2 separate regions of the Homo sapiens genome follow, and region 2 is linked to region 1. Evidence: promoter capture Hi-C in 16 types of primary human blood cells and fetal thymus (Javierre and others, 2016). All regions are on one chromosome and are shown on one strand. The core of a region is centred on a gene start or on the middle of the fragment in contact, and the rest is flanking DNA. Distances in the headings are between cores, read along the strand shown. Region 1 holds the start of KCTD6 (potassium channel tetramerization domain containing 6). Region 2 overlaps PXK (PX domain containing serine/threonine kinase like).

What was found. The method cuts DNA at HindIII sites, captures the fragments that hold promoters and counts their contacts. A CHiCAGO score of 5 or more calls a contact.
Region 2: a contact is called between a fragment that was not itself captured here and the fragment with the promoter of KCTD6 in region 1, in 1 of 17 cell types (naive B cells). The highest score is 5.3, in naive B cells.

The regions. Positions count from the first base shown.
Region 1 is chr3:58,489,987-58,496,915 of GRCh38, reverse strand. It overlaps KCTD6 (potassium channel tetramerization domain containing 6), which reads right to left and starts at 4,820. Exons shown (of 3, transcript NM_001128214.2): 1 at 4,747-4,820. RefSeq lists a silencer at 4,520-5,169. The HindIII fragment of the contact is 5,155 bases long and covers 4,293-6,929 here.
Region 2 is chr3:58,369,405-58,375,869 of GRCh38, reverse strand. PXK (PX domain containing serine/threonine kinase like) reads right to left here. Exons shown (of 18, transcript NM_017771.5): 3 at 6,392-6,439. Among named protein-coding and RNA genes, the nearest start is that of PXK, 40 kb to the right of the region's middle. The HindIII fragment of the contact is 174 bases long and covers 2,131-2,304 here.

The DNA of each region.
Region 1 (6,929 bases), core at 3,571-6,070:
CTGGTAAGATGCTCATCTTTGGCATTTTCCCATCACCCAAAGTATTCATTCTGACAGCCTCAATAATCATTCATTCAGCCAACAATTATTGTGGGTCACCTATGGAGTGGAGGGGGTGCCTATGTGCAATGCGGACACACAGAAAGAGGAAAAAGACAATCTTTGCCCTCATGGAGCTTTCCATCTATAATGGAAGGCAACATGCAATGACTGAAGTACAGAACAGAATTCAAAGTGCTGTATAACAGATGGACCAGCAGAGGCCCGTGAGAGGGGAAAAGCAAGATTTCAAATGGGAAATAGAGGACTTCTGGGAAGAGCCCATTCAGTTGAATCCTTGAAAGAAAATTCGGACAACCTGAGAAGGGATTCTAGAAGGAAGAAACAATTTAATAGACAGGGGCATGAAAGACTTTTTTTCCCCCTACAACATTCCTGATACCAGTAGGCCGAGCAGGGATTACTATCCTCATCTTAAAGATGCAAAACAGAGAAACAAGGCAGATTAAGTGACTAGCTGAGGGCGCCACAGCTGGGAAGTAACTAGATAAGAACTTGCATGTTCTGACTCTTAGTCTAGATTTTTCCATAAATCCCCTCCTAGGGTAGAAATTGAAAGAACAGAATCCAAGAGACAAGAAATTGAAAAAGCTTAACTTTAAACTCTCTATAGCCATCTATTAACCCTATCCATCCAGTAGGGTTTTATTTACAAATTTTACAGTAACTCAGCCTAACTAAACAGTCATAATGGGTTTGTAAAAATTCTCCTGAGGCCCCCCCACCAAAAAAAGGCAGGAACCCATTCAACTAGTGTGAATAACGGTTGCTGTCCTGTCTGTAGTGACATAAAGAACTCCAATCCGTGAATATCCAAATGATTAAATGAGAAACAGAAGATCAAAGACAAGGAAAAAAGCAGACATCAATGTTGCAGCCGTTAACGAAAAGTCTGTCCACTATTAACCCTTTTTTTCTTTTTTACTGCTAAATCAAAACAAGGTAACTTCTTGAGCAGTTATCTAAAAAAAAAAAAAAAAAAATTAGACGATGTCCCTGAATCTGTTCCACAGCAAAAGCAAAAGTTCCGGTACAAAGATGTAATGAAAGCTCACGCTTAATAATTCAGGAAAGCAATTATGGGAATCTACAGCCCATGTTTCTTAAAAACCACCCAAAAGCCTTCCTATACTTGTGTATAAGATACATCAAAATAAATTGAAGCAAAGTTACTATTAGTCACTTCCAATAACAATGAGTAAACTGTCTAAAGAAATCAAATTGTGCATTAAAGAGTTCAAAGGGAAAAAACAGTATTGATTAGTTTAAATTTTATCTCTACCTGCTTCTAAATATCTTCTGTGGAGATGCTTAAATACAGCAAGAAACAAACAAACAAAAAAAAAGCATGAAAAATTCCCTGTTATCCAATAGCTGGATAATGATCGGCTTCTGAATTCTGAATTGACGACCATTAGGAACATCTCTGAAACGATGCAGATGAATGAAATACAATCCCAAAGAATTTCCAGAATAGTTTCAATCTCTTCTACTGAATCATTTTCCAGAGCTACTAACAATTAGAAAATGATTCATTTGCTTTTCATCTTCTCTCCCTTCTGGCACAGTCTCCAGTGGAGGGCTTAATGAGAAGTTAAATGACCACAAGACAGGCAGCAGAAGGAAGATCTTGAAATGGGTATCAAATAGGCCTATTTTACTTGATGAAAGCAAAGAAATATCTAATATTTCAGAAAATCTACCAGGAATGGTAACAATAAAAAATTTTTCCTTTATAGTGACTTTCCTTACTAAAACTAAAGATGGTTTTGAAAGACAGCAAATGCAACCGAGCACAAACAGCTATAAAATTCAAAGAAGCCTCTGACCCTGAAAAATCAGTTCACCTGAAAAGATGTAACCTTTGATGCAAATAAAATTCTTGTGAAAACAACACTGCCCACTCCCCAAAGAATATAAAGCAGTGCTGAAAATTCAACCATGTTTAAGCTTCAAAGGTTATTGTGACTAATGTATAAATTCTGACAGTGTCATGTTAGCAGGTAATTAAGCTTAAGAAAACACATACTGAAGAATTTATAGAAACCTTAAAAGGAAGTATTAATTTTCTAAAGTAGCATATCTGAAGAAATGCATACATAATTCAGTAAGTTAATAACTTAAAAAAATAACCTAAGAACCCTTAAATGCCATTCTCCCTATCACTGCAGAATTGCAATTACAGGCCTAATGGTTATGATGAACTAACTTAACAAAAATATTCTGGGTTTATCATTCCTGCTATAGATTAAGAATTCTCCGGGGCAAAAGTCCTAATCCTATATAACTACCTATATGTTGCAATAAAAACCTCCAACGAATAATAAAAAACTCCAACTACTGACTTCCCAGAGTTTCCAGGCAGCCCTTTAAAAATGCTTTTTTACTGAAACCTTCGTGTCTGGTAGTCAGAAAAGACTCAATAAACTCCCTCTTTCTATACTTACCTTCAAAATTGCCTTGTATTGAGTTTTGCTCTTCTTGAAATGTGGGAGTTTGAAAGCGAAATACTTTTTATAGTAACTAGTTCAGCGACATCTAAAGGAGTCTTTGGGGTTAACATTCACATACAGGCCAGCATAAGTAGCCAGGCATACAAGGATAATGTGATTATGGTTAGATTATCCTTAACCATACCACTGCAGAAATGGATTTTTCTCTACAAGTAATCATTTTCTCTTTCTCCTTTCTCAACCATGTGGTCTAGAAGAGAGAAGCTATAGGTTTAAAAGTGACCTAATATTAAAAAGCTGTCACAAATAGTCACAAAATCATAACATTCCTCTTAACCCTCAGTTTCCGCAAGATAAAACGGGATAATACCACCTTCCCAAAACGGGGTAATTACACCATTTAGGCACAACACAAAGGCAAAAATTGGCCTATAAGAGTAACACATCAGGACAAGGAAAGAGAACAGGTTCCCAGGGAGGTCCTGTAGTTGAATTCTGCTCCGTTACTGATTATGAGACCCTGAGAAAATCACTCTTTATGCCCAGCTTCTTCTTTGGGGAAATGGAGAAAATAAGGGAGATCATGAATATAAAACCATCTGTAAACTAGCAAGTATTAGACAAATGTGAAAACATTAGTGGCAGCAGCATAAACAAAATTTCTAGGTTAACATGAGAAACTTGAGTGTGAACACAAGTAATTTAGAGCATTGGCCTGGAGACGGCAAATATGGAGGAGGCAGCCTCTTAATTTGCTTCAAATCTCCCCAGGTCCTCCTTTTCCCAGAGCTCCAGAAGGGAGAACTATATACAGGTAAAGGGGAGTGTCTAGTTTTCCCAGAGTTCACCAAACACCTGAGCTCCTGATCTCAGAAGGAACTTCTTTAAAGCATGACTCGGGATTATCTCCAAGTTAAAGCTGAATCCAAATACATACAGGTACTCCATTTTAAATGGACCCCAAATATCAAAATCCAAGCGCACTGAAGGATTCATAGGGTTCACCCTAAGATTCCTTTAAGTAGTAATGCTTTGGTTAAAATATGATTTATGAAAATTCAAATCACAAAACTTTGGAATGGCATCCATGGCTATCCTGACCACTCCATCGTTCATATCTAAGGCATAGCACAAAATCAAGTATCAGTATGGACTGATGGTTTCGGCCAAAGAGAAAATACTCTCAACCTACCAACCCTGCTGACAAACACATTTTCCTTTTCCTAGCTACATATTCGTTCATTTGAAAACATCTCAATCTTGGGCTCAGGACTGTGCTACATGCTGTCCCCAAGCTTCTCTCCTATCCCAGGATGATTCAAGTAATAGGGCATTTGTGACAGCGAAAAAAAGAACATGCCAGGGGGATATAGAAGAGATACTTAGGCTACCCCAAATATTCTTAGCCGAGCCGGGTCATCCCAGGTCACTTTGCCACCCAAACCTCTTCTATCACAAAGTCCTAAAATTGGATCCATCAACTTGTTCTAGAACTGGTATACTTGAACAGAAACATGGTAACTTCGGCAGAATATCCAAACAGGATCTCTGTCACGTTTCATTTCCCCGTCCCACCCCCAGACACAGCCTCCACCACTGTCAGCCCAGCAGGTGCTGCCAGGGCTCCCCATTACCATGGCCATTTATCACCTCTGACATCAAGCATTAAAAACGCCACCACACACACACAAATCTAGGCATAAAGAACTCAGCTGCGATCTGAGAGTCTCTTCAGGGCAGAAAATCCCAAAGGCAGGGTTTTGAGTCCTGCCTCAAGCTTTAAACTAGGGCAATTGGTGGCTAATAAGCGCCATCTCCCAAAAACAATCATTTTCGAGCACACCCCAAATATCTCCGTCCGGGCCGCCCTTCGCTGCTGCCCCGCCAGCGAAGCCCCCGCAACCCGACCCGGCCAGGGGTAGGGCGGGCGATGCTCCGGGCCCGGACGAGGGGCGCGCCGCGGGGCTCCGAACCCGGGCCCGCAGAAACCGCGCATCCCCGCCGGGCGGGCCCCGGAACCCCCGCCCAGGCCCCGCCGCGGGCACCTCCGCTGCTGGCTCGTGCCAGCCCGGGACGCGCGGTCCCCTCAACGCGGCCCCGCCGCCGCCCCGTTCCAGGAGCCCCCGCCCAGATCCTCCTCAGCCCCGCTCCCCTGGCCGCTCGGCGCAGACGTCTCCTGAAACCCGGCCCTCCCAAACCCCGGCCCCGCAAGCCCCGCGCCAGCCCCACTCACTGCGCGGCGGCGGCGGCTGCTGCGGCCGGGCCGGGAGATGCCCGCGGCCGGAGAGCGCGAGCGCGGGGACAAGCGAGCCCGCGCCCGGCGACGGCGGCGGCGGCGGCGGCAGAGGGGACGACTGAGCCCGCGCCCGGAGTTGCGGCTCCAGCTGCCCGGCGCGGGCGGCGCCTTCCCAGCAGAGCCGCGGCGCCACGAGCGCGGGCGCCCCCTAACGGCAGCGCGGGCTGGAAGCCAGAGAGCGGGCGGCCTGAGGAACTCAGCCAGCGCAGTCGGAGCCGCGCGGTCAAGACCACACGACCGCAGCCCCGAAGCCCCGCCCCGAAGCCCCAGTCCCGCCCCTTAGGCTCCGCTCCGAAGCCCCGAAACCCCGCCCCTACGTCCCGCCTCCGCCCGCAGCCTGGGGTCCGCCCAACCCCAGGCCCACTGCGTCCTCAGGGGTGGTGCCTCCACAGCTGTTTCTCCTTAGTCATTTCACGAACTTGTATGGGCCCCCCACTATATCTCAGGCCTGGGGGTTTAGGAGATACAGCGGCCACCAAGACGGAGGCGGGTCCTAATCAAAGGAGAAGACAGACAAGACTCAAGGAAACAGCTAATAGACAAAATAATGACAAGTTATGGCCGTAAGTGTTGGGAGGGACATGATTAGAGGACTTAGATGGAGAAGAAGGGAAGGGAGCCCCTGCTCCAAACGCAGTGGCCGAGGAAGACCTGGACCCCGACCTGCGGCCAGAGCTCCTCCTGCCTGCCCTGCATTGGGGAGACAACCCTGCGATGAGGCCTGTGAAGAAGCCCCCGGGGCCACCGGGGCAAGACGGTCTGGTCCGGCCTGACGGGCAAGACAGCAAAGGGCTGCTGGGCCCAGAAGCTCAGCAACACGGGCAGCCAGGTGGAGAGAAGGGCAGAGCTACCTTCAGCAGACAAAACGACCCATGCAAAGGCTCTGGGGCCTGGAGGAGCTCGACCCTAGATGAGACTGGCGCTGGTATTGTCCCCACTTCACCAGGAAGGAAGCCAAGGCTGCAGAGGATGGGCAGCACCTAACGCCTCAGGGCTAATTGGTCTCCATCCGTCCACTCGTTCCAAGTCCATTCACTTCCTGCTAGCCAGGCCACTGTCCCCTTCCGGTGGGACCAGTTACCTGATGCTGGGTTTAACCTTCTCCACCAGAATAACCACTGGCCTTAGAAACTCACTTGGGTTTCACGTCTGCATGTGTGTGAGCTAGCTCTGGGGTTGAAATTGTATCAGCATGATCATCACAGTTATATCTGATACTTGATTTGTCTCCAAAAGCTCAAATTGATAGGTTAAATAAATGACATATGCTTCATCAACATAACTGAGTGCTACATTATCAAATTCACAAAGACTAGGTGAGAATACAGGGAAATGTGTGTGAAAATGATCAATACACAAACTAGTACACATGATATCCTGATTTTATTTTTAAAAACATAAATATATACAGACAAAAATTTTGAAGGAAATACATCAAACCATTGACCATCGTGTTCAAGATAACAGTATGGGAATGTTAATGGCATTACTTCATAACGTTCTTCTGAATTTTCATGAATATTGAATTTATAATCAGAACACATAAATATTGAATTTATAATCAGAAAAATACAATGAGTTTTGGTTTGGTTTTTCTTTTTTTTTTTTTTTGCCCCCCACTCCTCCCCACCCCACTGGGTTTTGTTGTTTTTTAATAGAAGGACAATACCAAAATTACCCAATACTCAGATCTCCAGAATTTGGTGCCACTGAAAACCCAGAATTGCCTCTGATTTACTGGGTATCCTTGAAAGAGTCATTTCCCCTCTCAGGGCTTCTATTTCCCCATATAAAAACTGATGGATTAATTTTGTTGGTGATTTTGTCAGACCTAGTCCCTCCTATCTTAAAATTTTTATAACTAGTGCTAATTGTACTTTCACTTTTGTATTTTATAATTGATAGATGGCTATTGAAATGCAGTTGGGTTTTATATAATCTTATATTCAGCAAAAGTGAACTCTTTCAGTTCTAATAAGTTTGTAGGTTCTCTTGAATTCGCTGTGCAAATAATCATAGAGTCTGCAAGTCATAACAGTGTGGTATCTTCCTGTCCTTTTTTTCCTTTTTCTTGCTGTACTGTGCTGACTAAATTCTCTCACACAATGTTGAAGAGCAGT
Region 2 (6,465 bases), core at 968-3,467, 120 kb after region 1:
AGAAATGGAAAATTACTTAAGCAATTATAATGCTTAGCATTGGTGAGATTTTGCCAACTTAACAAGTTAATTATTTATGCCATGTTTCCAGTTTAGGGTCTCAGGTGGCCGGAACCCATCCCATGTCAGGGTGCGCTCACACACACCCACACTCACATGGGGACTATGCAGACATGCTGGTTCACCTAACCTGTACATCTTTGGGATGTGGGAAGAAACTGGAGTACCCAGAGAAAATCCACGTAGACATGGAGAGAAAGTGCAAACTCCATTCACACAGTGGCCTTGGTCGTGGATAGATTTATTTTTTTCTCATCAACATTACAACCAAACAATGTTGAACAAAACGGTGTTATCTGAGAGCCTGCTGTCTTAGCCCGGGATATGGTTACACAGGCACAGAAAAAATGTCTGGGAGGACTCACACCAACTGCTTAACAATAACCATTTCTAGGAGTGGGTTGGTTCATTAATTTTTATTTCTCTACTGTGAAATGTTTACAGTGCTCATTTACTACTTTTTTTTCAATTAAAGAAAGAAAAGTGCTTTTGTTTATCAAACTGATTGTATATGGAGCAAGGATTTTTAAAATACCATTACCCAGTATCGACAGATTTGCCTGCACTACCGCATAGCAGCATCCCCAGCTGAGTCCACATCACTCAGAAAGGAGTCACATCTGACATCATTGGATTCAAATCCCAATATTCTGGCTCCTTTTCTTTCATTGTGGGGATGTGAGAGTGAATTTCATAAAGTATCTGTTTTGAACTTTGTGGCTTCCAAGCTTCAACATACCCAGTTTGTCAAGCTTCATTTCACTTTTTTAAATGTATTGCTCTGCCCAGACATCCCATCAGTTCTTTCAAACCGTCAGGTGAAACAAAGAGCTCTTTTGCCAACAGCTGCAATTATAATGTCCCTGCTATGTCAGACAGACCGGAGGTGGTTTTCCTGCCCTAAGTTTAAGATCTCACAAAAAAAATTCCTAAAGGTACTCAGACTATGCAACATATGTGTTATTTTAAAATCCCATCTCTTAAAAAAGATTATTCAAGAGACACTTACTTTCTCTTTCAGCTTTCTCCTAGAATTTCTAAACTGCTTACCAATTACAGAATAGAAAATTTAGAATTCCAATGGCTAATTAGAAGGGAGGGAAAAAAATACTACACATGGAATAATAAAGTCTCTAAGCCACTGATTTCCTAGACACCTCCACACTGATGACTTCAAGCCAGGATGCCTCATCATCTCACTTTCACTACCTTCCTCTTTAACATGCCCTATGGATTCCCTTCTTGAGTTCCTTATAGAAGGAAAAGAGAACAAGACAGCCAGCAGAGGAGTCCCCGGAGTTCTATGCACAACTGCAGAGTGAAAATGGAAAGGGGAGGCCAGGCGCCGTGGCTCACACCTGTAGTCCCAGCATTTTGGGAGGCTGAGGTGGGTGGATCACCTGAGGTCAGGAGTTCGAGACCAACCTGGCCAACATGATGAAACCCCCATCTCTACTGAAGATACAAAAAAATTAGCCAGGCATGATGGTGGGGGCATGTAATTCCAGCAACTTGGGAGGCTGAGGCAGGATAATCGCTTGAACCCGGGAGGTGGAGGTTGCAGTGAGCACGATCTCGGCTCACTGCACTCCAGCCTGGGCAACAGAGTGAGACTGTCTCAAAACAAAAAAAAAAAAAGAAAGAAAATGGAAAGCAGGGAATGATTCCCAAATTGGGATTTAGAGCCCAAAATTATATGACAAACTATATTACAGTTTCAGAAAACTAGCTTTTATCTGGAGGGAAAACTTTTTTTTTTTTTTTTTGAGACGGAGTCTCGCTCTGTCGCCATGGCTGGAGTGCAGTGTGCGATCTCGGCTCACTGCAAGCTCCACCTCCTGGGTTCACGCCATTCTCCTGCCTCAGCCTCCCGAGTAGCTGGGACTACAGGCGCCGGCCACCACGCCCTGCTAATTTTTTGTATTTTTAGTAGAGACGGGGTTTCACCATGTTAGCCAGGATGGTCTCGATCTCCTGACCTCGTGATCCACCCACCTCGGCCTCCCAAAGTGCTGGGATTACAGGCGTGAGCCACCACGTCAGGGGATGAGATGGCACTGGCCACAAGCTTACAGCAACTTCCAGGCAGAGGAAACAGAACATACAAAGGCCCTGGGCTAAGACAGGAATGAAAAACTTTCAACCTCAATCTGTTCATTGCTCTTTACTTCCAACATCAGATCTTCATGATCTGTAAATTGCCTTCAACCATATTCCAGTCAGTATCCTAGGGAGTTCTAAGCTTTCAACAGACCCTCAATTTGTCTCAACCCCCTGCTGTCCCCTGGAGTACAGTAAGTCTCTCCAAGGTCAACAATGGGCAGTAAAATTCTAATTACAAAACATTTGTGCTATAAGAGACCTCAGAAGTCATCTAGTTCAACCCCTTTATTTCAGCGGCGAAAGTGAAACCCAAGAGAAGAAATGATGGACTCGGCCAGGCGCTGTGGCTCACGCCTGTAATCCCAGCACTTTGGGAGGCCAAGGTGGGCGGATCACGAGGTCAGGAGATCACCATCCTGGCTAACACAGTGAAATCCCATCTCTACTTAAAATACAAAAAATTAGCCGGGCATGGTGGCGGGCGCCTTGTAGTCTTAGCTACTCAGGAGGCTGAGGCAGGAGAATGGCGTGAACCTGGGAGGTGGAGCTTGCAGTGAGCAGAGATGCACCACTGCACTCCAGCCTGGGCGACAGAGCGACTACGTCTCAAAAAAAAAAAAAAAGAAATGACGGACTCAAGGTCTCAACACTGGAAGGGGCAGGGCCTGGGTTCCTTCTCAAGTCTAAGGAACAGAGACTGAGTTCTTTCTCTCTCTGCCCAGTTCCCAACATTTCAACAGCCTGCTTCTTTCCCTTCGTTGTATGCTGTCTCCCTAGATGGCTGCTAATCTGATGTTGCATTTAAAATAAGATGGTGATTTTTCTTCATTGTTTCCACAAAATATGCTCACTATAAAAAGTCTGGCAGCCTGGCCAACACAGTGAAACCCCGTCTCTACTAAAAATACAAAAATTAGCCGGGCATGGTGGCACGTGCCTGTAATCTCAGCTACTCGGGAGGTTATGGCAGGAGAATTGCTTGAACCCAAGAGGCAGAGATTGCAGTGAGCCAAGATCACGCCACTGCATTCCAGTTTGGGTGACAGGGCGAGACTCCATCTCAAAAAAAAAAAACTTTAGAAAATGCAGCTTTTGCTGGGCACACTCCTGTAATCCCAGCACTTTGGGAGGCCGAGGCAGGCAGATCACAAGGTCAGGAGATTGAAACCATCCTGGCTAACACGGTGAAACCCCGTCTCTACTAAAAATACAAAAAATTAGCCGGGCGTGGTGGCGGGCGCCTGTAGTCCCAGCTACTCGGGAGGCTGAGGCAGGAGAATGAGGTGAACCCGGGAGGCGGAGCTTGCAGTCAGCCAAGATCGCGCCACTGCACTCCAGCCTGGGCGACAGAGTGAGACTCCATCTCAAAAAAAAAAGAAAAAGCAGCTTTTTTCTGTTTTTCCACTTAGATAGCCTACATGTGCTTGTTTGTGGAGCACTTGGAAAGTACAGAACATTAAACAAAACAAAACAAAGAAACAGAAAAAGACATAACCTATAATTCTGCCACCTGGGGATCACCATTAACATTTTGGCATATTTACTTGCAATCCTGTTTTCCAAACATTTCTTGTAATTATATTATATGGCATATATAATTTTGCATTCTGCTTTTTTTTCACTTAGACATGTTCCTATTGGACTCAGACATGTGTCCAACTCTGCATATGTGTATTATATTTCTCTTTCTTCAGCAGGAACTCATTTATCTGTCAAAAGGGTAATTGGACACTGAAAATCATGGTCACAGTTTTATTCTGAGGTTTGAGTCTTTTTGGTCTGTTTTATGGATATTGTTTTAAATTATTTCACTGCCAAAAAGCTGTATGTGCTTTCTTCTGTTTGTTTACTTGAATCCAGAAAAACCTCCCACTGAAATGATGTCTGACCATATTCTGCCCAACATAAGCCAACATCAATACATGGGGATATTTGCATTTGAAATAAGATGCACATTGAAAGTCCCCATTTTAAAAGGTAAAATTACACTGAAGCAAGCATAAAATTCACTATATTAAAAAGGCCATAAGTGAAGAGTTGTGGAGAAACTTTATCACCCCAAAGTATGAGTAAATGAGAGATAAAACTCCCCTCCCCACCCTCTATTCTTAGAGGCTAAGTCTAGGCAATTTCAATTTCAAAAATATTTCTCCCACAATTCTTACTCGGCCTGGCTGAATGACATTGTACAAAGATCACGCCCCCTTTATGCACAAGCAAAGGTTCGCTTGAGCATAAAGGCAGAAACAGTTAGTAGGCCCACTGTTAATTCCCAAATGCTTACACCACTGTGGAAATGTCACATGGGCCACTGCACTGGGGAGAGGAGGGCTTGAGGAGAAAATCCACTGCTGGAATAAACTGCACATTGATACCTTATCTACAATGTCATCATAGGCCCAGCTCTTGTCTGAGTGCAAAGATGCTATTAAAATCCATAAATAAAACCAATTAAACCCACTGATGAGAATCTGATGTCTGCCAATATTCTATCTGAAGACTCAAATGGGTCATACTAAAATTAAAACACAAAAAGACATTATGTGTCAAATGCATGACAAGTATGGCAATACATAATCATCTGCAGATACTCAGGCCCCTTCCTTCAAAAGGAAAACAAGGCATTCATGCTTTCAGCAGCATTATAAATAATGTTAAAGTGTGGGCTGTACAAATACTTATTTCCTTTTTTGTTTGTTTGTTTTTTGAGACAGAGTCTTGCTCTATTGCCCAGGATGCAGTGCAACGTGGTGCATTCTTGGCTCACTGCAACCTCCCCCTCCTGGGTTCAGGCGGTTCTCCTGCCTCAGCCCCCTGAGTAGCTGGGATTACAGGCGCCCACACCACACCCAGCTAATTTTTGTATTTTTAGTAGAGACAGGGTTTCGCCATGTTAGCCAGGCTGGTCTTGAACTCCTGACCTCAGGTGATCCACCCGCCTCAGCCTCCCAAAGTGCTGGGATTACGGGAGTGAGCCACGACGTGTGGCCCAAATGCTTATTTTCTGAAGTCTGACCAACAAAACGTGGCCTTCTGAAGGAAAGGAAGTATTACGCTTCCTCCTAGTGCACAGTCCTCCTGACCTTTATGGGCAAGATCAGAGGTCCCTCAGAATGAGCGATAACGGCTAGCTCACCAATGACGGGAGCAGTCCTTTCCCTCCTGGCTGAGTCCTTTACCTCATAAGCCGTGCACTCTTCCTCAGGTTTAAAGGGTTTTATGTTACCAATCAAACCTGAAGTATGACACACAAGAGCACAATAGTCTTCAGTAATCCAAGGCACTTGAAGACCAGCCTGCCAAGTGAAGACATGGCGGGTATTGGCAGGACTTCCTAAGGTGCTAAAGCCCCTCTTGGACCCTTTAACCATTACCAACACTGGCTGTGTTTCTAGATGAAGACCTTCCAGCTCATGCTTCTTCCCATTATGGCCCTCAAGTTAGGAACATTTAAAACAAAGGGATTTCTAACTACATATTTAGGATAAAAAAGTTAAACAGAAAAAGGTTGAGACTCTCAGTTACTGCTGCATGTTGATCCGCAGAGCTGATATGTAGCCTAGTTCAATGAAGAGATTCAGAGTCCCAGCTCCACCTAAGTGAACAACACTAGCAATCCACGCAATCATTCCACATCTGTTAAAAGGAGATATTACGTCAGCCTCCTATGACTGTGGTAAGAATACAGTCTGGCACAATAATACTTGGTTGCAAGGTGACTATTAATTATAAATCACATGTTGATTCCCAAAAGTTTATTTTTGGGAATACTTTACATCATCTGTATAAAGTATGAATTTATTTTCTTTGACAGGGAAATGTGCTAATTTCTTGTTTCTGATATTGCCATTTCCAACCAGTTTTGTTTTTTTTTTTTTTTTTGAGACAGAGTTTCACTCTTATTGCCCAGGCTGGAGTGCAATGGTGCGATCTCGGCTCACCACAACCTCCGCTTCCCAGGTTCAAGTGATTCTCCTGCCTCAGCCTTCCAAGTAGCTAGGATTACAGGCACGCGCCACCACGCCTGGCTAATTTTGTATTTTTAGTAGAGATGGGGTTTCTCCATGTTGGTCAGGTGGTCTTGAACGCCTGACCTCAGGTGATCCACCCGCATTGGCCTCCCCAAGTGCTGGGATTACAGGCGTTGAGCCACCGTGCCCCGACTCCAGCCAGTTTTTTAGACACCCCAAGTAATCAATGTGTGTAATTAGAATTTCAAAACATTTACCTGTAAGCTGTTGTTAAGCAAATCAAAGTCACTGTATCTTCTAACAATCTGTAAGAGACAAGAAGTAGTGTTTT